Linked DNA regions of Homo sapiens: region 2 is linked to region 1. The links are contacts of gene promoters, found by promoter capture Hi-C in blood cells and fetal thymus (Javierre and others, 2016). All regions are on one chromosome and are shown on one strand. The core of a region is centred on a gene start or on the middle of the fragment in contact, and the rest is flanking DNA. Distances in the headings are between cores, read along the strand shown.

The links. The method cuts DNA at HindIII sites, captures the fragments that hold promoters and counts their contacts. A CHiCAGO score of 5 or more calls a contact.
Region 2: a fragment that was not itself captured here is called in contact with the fragment with the promoter of CTDSP2-AS1 in region 1 in 1 of 17 cell types (monocytes); the score reaches 5.7 in monocytes.

Annotation. Positions count from the first base shown.
Region 1 is chr12:57,835,609-57,838,906 of GRCh38, reverse strand. It overlaps CTDSP2-AS1 (CTDSP2 antisense RNA 1), which reads right to left and starts at 1,816. Exons shown (of 2, transcript NR_188077.1): 1 at 1,693-1,816. The region is part of intron 1 of CTDSP2 (CTD small phosphatase 2); the gene reads left to right. RefSeq lists enhancers at 477-556, 617-726, 307-927, 1,517-1,586. The HindIII fragment of the contact is 9,495 bases long and covers 53-3,298 here.
Region 2 is chr12:55,955,506-55,958,803 of GRCh38, reverse strand. PMEL (premelanosome protein) reads left to right here. Exons shown (of 11, transcript NM_001384361.1): 4 at 197-331; 5 at 720-881; 6 at 1,133-1,855; 7 at 2,585-2,701; 8 at 2,941-3,025; 9 at 3,135-3,298. Among named protein-coding and RNA genes, the nearest start is that of PMEL, 8.9 kb to the left of the region's middle. RefSeq lists an enhancer at 1,398-1,899. The HindIII fragment of the contact is 2,620 bases long and covers 308-2,927 here.

The sequences.
Region 1 (3,298 bases), core at 567-3,066:
GAGTATGAAAGTACTTTGCACTTAATGAGTAGCAGTTGACACTTACAAAGCTTTTGTTAGGACCAGGACACTCCCTGAGCTCCCTGCAATTCTGACACTGAGAAATAGGTAGTCTTCCCATTTTGCAGATGAAGAAACTGAGGCCCATGGCTGCATACCTTACACATGGCAGAGCCTAGATTCGAACTCAAGTCTGGGTGCCTTGTGTCACCACTGTATTTTTCCCTGGTCAGAACAGATACCCTTGCTTTGTCCTGTGTCCTCACTGCTTTCTCCAGCTCACGTTTGTATCAACCTAAAGCAGGCCTACATACCTGGAAGGGAAAGAAGCAGTGGATTCTTCCTAGGCTTCAACTATATCTAAGCATTCCAGGAGTCAAGGGCACAGCACTAAGGCAGGAACTTGAAACACTCACTGAGAGGTTGTCTGTGTGTAGCCCCTCCCACAGGGGCTTGTTATACACCTCCTTAGGGGGAAGGAGGGGTAACTCCAGGTAGGCAAGTGTGGTTTCCAATCCCTCACAATGATACCTTTGCTCTGGCTGGTGCTACATAGGGCAGGGTCTCCTGCTGAGGCAGGGGCAGGATCCAGTCCTTTGAGTTTTCTTGGATGGCATCTCAGGCTTGTCCCTGCTGCCCTGTGGGCTATTAGATCACTTCCTGACATCCCTCAAGAGTCCTCTGGAGTGGGGCTTGCAGGGCTGAGCCTGCAGCTGACTTGTCTATGAGGAAACGCCTCCTCTGTCTCTGGTCCAGGATCTGCTACTTATGGAGGCCCACCCCAACCCAGCACGTTTTTAAAGTACGTTGGAGCTGCCCAGGAGGGTGTTTTGGCAATACCTCCTTTAGAGGCTGATTCTGAAATCAGCGTGCTTTAGAACTGCCAGAAATCCCCTGCTCCCAAAACTGAGTCCTCTTACCTCTCTAGCTGAGGTCAGAGAACAGATTGCTGAAGGGGCAGAGACAAGAAAGTGTGTGACCTGTGACCCTCGCCCCACAGGTGGCATTAAGGACTCAGGTCTGAAAGAAGAGACAGCCATATAGGGAGCTCTCCTGCCCAGGGAAAGGGAACTAATGGAGACACTGGCTTAGGTAGAGCTGCCCCAGTTGCTGGTGCAGAGAGGGCACCAGCATACAACATGCTGGTATGGGCCAAACAGCATGGCTAAAACTGCTTTTTAATTTTTTAAATTTTATTTATTTATTTATTTATTTTGAGACAGAGTTTTGCTCTGTCCCCCAGGCTGGAGTGCAATGGTGTGATCTCGGCTCACTGCAACCTCCACCTCTTGGATTCAAGTGATTCTCGTGCCTCAGCCTCCGGAGTAGCTGGGATTACAGGAGCTCACTACCATACCCTGCTAATTTTTGCATTTTTAGTAAAGATGGGGTTTCACCATATTGGTCATGCTGGTCTCGAACTTCTGACCTTAAGTGATCCCCACTGCCTTTGCCCCCCAAAGTGTTAAAACTGCTTTTTTCAAAAAATGCCCATGCAGTTAGATACACAGCTACTTTTTGGAACTTCGGGAGCCGGTGCTAAGCTGGGTCCGGCCCTGCCTTGCTTGTTAGCTGTAGAGAACAGTGTCAGTGGCCAGGCATGAAAGCAGTACACCCTCCCCATTGTTTGCAGTCTTTTGTGTGTGGGGGCTGTCTAGGCATCTCACCCTCTTTTGTTCCCTGCCGACTCACCTGCTGGTCCCAGGAGCTCTTCCGTCCACCTGGCACTTTAGGGCATGTCCATAGCCAAGGAACAGATGCCCCTTGCAGAGGACCTGGGAGGACTTCTCTCCATGGGGGAGTCCCAGTCAAATGTGTCTTGGCTGCAGGGTTCAGGCAGCCGTCCAAGAAGGGCCGGAAATGCTCCAAATACTCTCCTTCCTCCAATAGCTGAGAGGAAGGAGGCCCCTCAGAGGGGCCATTTTATAGTGATAGCCAGGCTAAGGCTAAGTCCTTTGCTGTGGGGGATGGGAGGTGGTGGGGAAGGAAGTACTTCTGGGGATGAACCAAAAAAGAAAGCAACTTTCTACCTGAATGGGCTTGTTAAAATCTGATTGTCTCAGAGGTTACCTTCTGCTGAATCGCAGGCAGATGTGTGAGGAGTTCCTTTGCTGGGACACAAAGCTGTGTTGTTGACAAAAGTGGTATCTGGACCTGACTTTCAGGAGAAGATTAAAAACAGTGTTGCCCTGGTCACTCTGGTCTTCGTTTGTGTGTATGTGTGCACGTGTTCACGTGTTTGTACATGTACACTTTTTTTTTTTAAAGACAAAATCTCACTCTGTCACCCAGGCTGGAGTGCAGTGGTGCAATCACGGCTTACCGCAGCCTCAAACTCCTGGGCTCCGGTGATTCTCCCACTTCAGCCTGCCAAGCTGGGACTGCAGGTGCACCTGGCTAATTTTTTTTTGGTAGAACAGGATTTTGCCATGTTGCTCAGGCTGGTCTTGAACTCCTGAGCTGCAGTGATCCAACCGGCCCAGCTTCCCAAAGTGCTGGGATTACAGGCTTGAGCCACCTACCCCGGCCCATGCATAGGGGCAAATAGTGTCCTTACCTGGTACTTCTTGAGAGTAGTGGGGATGAATACCAGGGGAGACAGCGATTTTTGTCTCAAGTGAAACAGTCTTACTTGCTTTTGTTTTTCACAGAATACCCAGTCAGGGAGTTTGTGAGCTGGAAAACAAATTTTGTTGTGGACTTGGGAGAAGGTATAGGGGCTATTTTGACTTTCTGAAACCTGCTCATGATCAGAGCTCTCAGGCACCTTTCCCTCATCTTCTTGGGCTTCATCCACGTGATGATGGTGGGAGGGCTCCTGGTCTGTTGCTGGCCTCCTGGAATGAGGCCCATGATGTTGCCATTTAGTGGTCATCTCCCCTTGGATAATTAATTAAAACAAGCGCAGCATTTAGCTTTAGAGTTAGCACAGTGCCTTACTCTCTAACTTCGTTTATCCTTTCAGTCCTGAGTGAGGGCTTGCTGTTATCCCAGTTTATGGATGAGGAAACTAAGGCTCCAAAAGGCTGTGTGGCTGAGTCAGTAACTGGCAGAGCCTGGACCCCAGCCCTGATGATCCTCAGTGGGGGCATACTCCTCACATCCCCTCTTCTCCTCACACCCCGCCTCAGTAGGAAGACTCGCAGCAGTGAGCTGGATGGCTGGCCTGGTTTCCCTGTCTTCAGCCACCAGCTCACTTTCTTCTTAAGCCAGAGCTGCTTCCCTCATTGGGTCTGTGCTAGTCCTCTCAGACATCTAGCCCCAAACCAAATGTTTGGGGCAGAGAAAGCAGAAGCAC
Region 2 (3,298 bases), core at 368-2,867, 1.9 Mb after region 1:
TCTCTAAAAAAAAAATGTAGTTTCCACACCCTCAACCCCCAACTACCACCCCAAATGGTTATATCATGGAGAATGTACTTTCTAGCTAGGGAATATTCCCAGAGCCCCTCTCTGATACCCTGGGAGCAATTTTAGGGGTTTTGATATACAAAAAAGAATGCCAGGGTTTGAGAGTGACTCTGTATTTATCTTTCAGGGAGCCAGGTGTGGGGAGGACAGCCAGTGTATCCCCAGGAAACTGACGATGCCTGCATCTTCCCTGATGGTGGACCTTGCCCATCTGGCTCTTGGTCTCAGAAGAGAAGCTTTGTTTATGTCTGGAAGACCTGGGGTGAGGGACTCCCTTCTCAGCCTATCATCCACACTTGTGTTTACTTCTTTCTACCTGATCACCTTTCTTTTGGCCGCCCCTTCCACCTTAACTTCTGTGATTTTCTCTAATCTTCATTTTCCTCTTAGATCTTTTCTCTTTCTTAGCACCTAGCCCCCTTCAACTCTATCATAATTCTTTCTGGCAACTCTTCCTCAATTGTAGTCCTACCCCATGGAATGCCTCATTAGGACCCCTTCCCTGTCCCCCCATATCACAGCCTTCCAAACACCCTCAGAAGTAATCATACTTCCTGACCTCCCATCTCCAGTGCCGTTTCGAAGCCTGTCCCTCAGTCCCCTTTGACCAGTAATCTCTTCTTCCTTGCTTTTCATTCCAAAAACTTCAGGCCAATACTGGCAAGTTCTAGGGGGCCCAGTGTCTGGGCTGAGCATTGGGACAGGCAGGGCAATGCTGGGCACACACACCATGGAAGTGACTGTCTACCATCGCCGGGGATCCCGGAGCTATGTGCCTCTTGCTCATTCCAGCTCAGCCTTCACCATTACTGGTAAGGGTTTAGGAAGGGGCAAGGCCAGTTGTAGGGCAAGAGAAGGCAGGGAGGCTTGGATGGACTGGAAAGGAGAAAGGTGAAATGCTGTGCAAACTTAAAGTAGAAGGGCCAGGAAGACCTAGGCAGAGAAATGTGAGGCTTAGTGCCAGTGAAGGGCCAGCCAGTCAGCTTGGAGTTGGAGGGTGTGGCTGTGAAAGGAGAAGCTGTGGCTCAGGCCTGGTTCTCACCTTTTCTGGCTCCAATCCCAGACCAGGTGCCTTTCTCCGTGAGCGTGTCCCAGTTGCGGGCCTTGGATGGAGGGAACAAGCACTTCCTGAGAAATCAGCCTCTGACCTTTGCCCTCCAGCTCCATGACCCCAGTGGCTATCTGGCTGAAGCTGACCTCTCCTACACCTGGGACTTTGGAGACAGTAGTGGAACCCTGATCTCTCGGGCACTTGTGGTCACTCATACTTACCTGGAGCCTGGCCCAGTCACTGCCCAGGTGGTCCTGCAGGCTGCCATTCCTCTCACCTCCTGTGGCTCCTCCCCAGTTCCAGGCACCACAGATGGGCACAGGCCAACTGCAGAGGCCCCTAACACCACAGCTGGCCAAGTGCCTACTACAGAAGTTGTGGGTACTACACCTGGTCAGGCGCCAACTGCAGAGCCCTCTGGAACCACATCTGTGCAGGTGCCAACCACTGAAGTCATAAGCACTGCACCTGTGCAGATGCCAACTGCAGAGAGCACAGGTATGACACCTGAGAAGGTGCCAGTTTCAGAGGTCATGGGTACCACACTGGCAGAGATGTCAACTCCAGAGGCTACAGGTATGACACCTGCAGAGGTATCAATTGTGGTGCTTTCTGGAACCACAGCTGCACAGGTAACAACTACAGAGTGGGTGGAGACCACAGCTAGAGAGCTACCTATCCCTGAGCCTGAAGGTCCAGATGCCAGCTCAATCATGTCTACGGAAAGTATTACAGGTAAGAGTATCAGTGCGAATGAGGTTCACGGAGGTGGGGTACCCTACTCTACTCTGTAAGTCTTACCCAGGACTCAGATGTTACCCAATCCTTTGCTTAGCACTATGGTCCCCTCAGAGTTCTCACTGGCCTGGCTATAAAGCCCTCCAGTCTCTCTTAATGACATGGAATAGGTCTGGAGTTCAGGAAACCAAGGTCTTCCCCTAGGCCATGAGGAAAGAGCTTGTTGCTTTCTCTACTGCTGAGAACGGTTGGCGAGACCAGGGAACAGACTGTGATCATTTATATAATATTTATAGCTCATTTTCTGTTCAAGCATAAATGCACGAAAATCCTTCCCAGATTCCGAGATCCTGATCCTTCCATTTCCCAACCCTGGATTCCCATCCCAAAGCAAAAAGGGAGGAATGAAACAGTGATGCTTAAATGAGTTAACACACGTTGAATGTCTAGCCTAGGACCTGACATAGTGTGGGGTGTGATAAACATTTGAGGATTTTTTAAAACTCCAATGCCACCCCTAACTGTGACTCTGGAGGAGTCATTTTCTTCTTCTGGGCCTCAGTTTCCTTATCTATAGAATAAGGTTTCCCAGGTCTTATCTGATTCCAAGCCTGTGACTCCAGAATCCAGTAACTCTGGTTCAACCTGAAAAAATGCCTGCTTGGCCTCTGCCTCCAGATGAGTCATCTGTCTCTTGATCTTGCCTCCTTGATCCTCTCCTGCCAGGTTCCCTGGGCCCCCTGCTGGATGGTACAGCCACCTTAAGGCTGGTGAAGAGACAAGTCCCCCTGGATTGTGTTCTGTATCGATATGGTTCCTTTTCCGTCACCCTGGACATTGTCCGTGAGTCTTGCCTACTTTGGTGGCTGATGGAGGCAGCTGTGTGCTACCTAGGGCTGGTCAGTGGAAGCACACCTTGGGAGGAATTACTCACCTAGATAGGAAGAATACCCAAATGCCAGAGTCCTCATTTGAAAGCACAGGGATGGGATTGGTGGAGCAGCCCTGGGGCTTTTCTGTCTCTGGGCTTTTGGGGAGGCCAGGTAGAGGAATCCTAATTTGATAAGCTTGCAACTCTGCAGAGGGTATTGAAAGTGCCGAGATCCTGCAGGCTGTGCCGTCCGGTGAGGGGGATGCATTTGAGCTGACTGTGTCCTGCCAAGGCGGGTGAGTGTCTCACTAGTGTGCTGGTAACTCTTTGGTTGACTGTTTCTCCGCTCTCTGGCATTTAGTGTCCCTTCCCAGATCCCCTTATATATGCTGACACTTCTTCCAGGCTGCCCAAGGAAGCCTGCATGGAGATCTCATCGCCAGGGTGCCAGCCCCCTGCCCAGCGGCTGTGCCAGCCTGTGCTACCCAGCCCAGCCTGCCAGCTGGTTCTGCACCAGATACTGAAGGGTGGCTCGGGGACATACTGCCTCAATGTGTCTCTGGCTGATA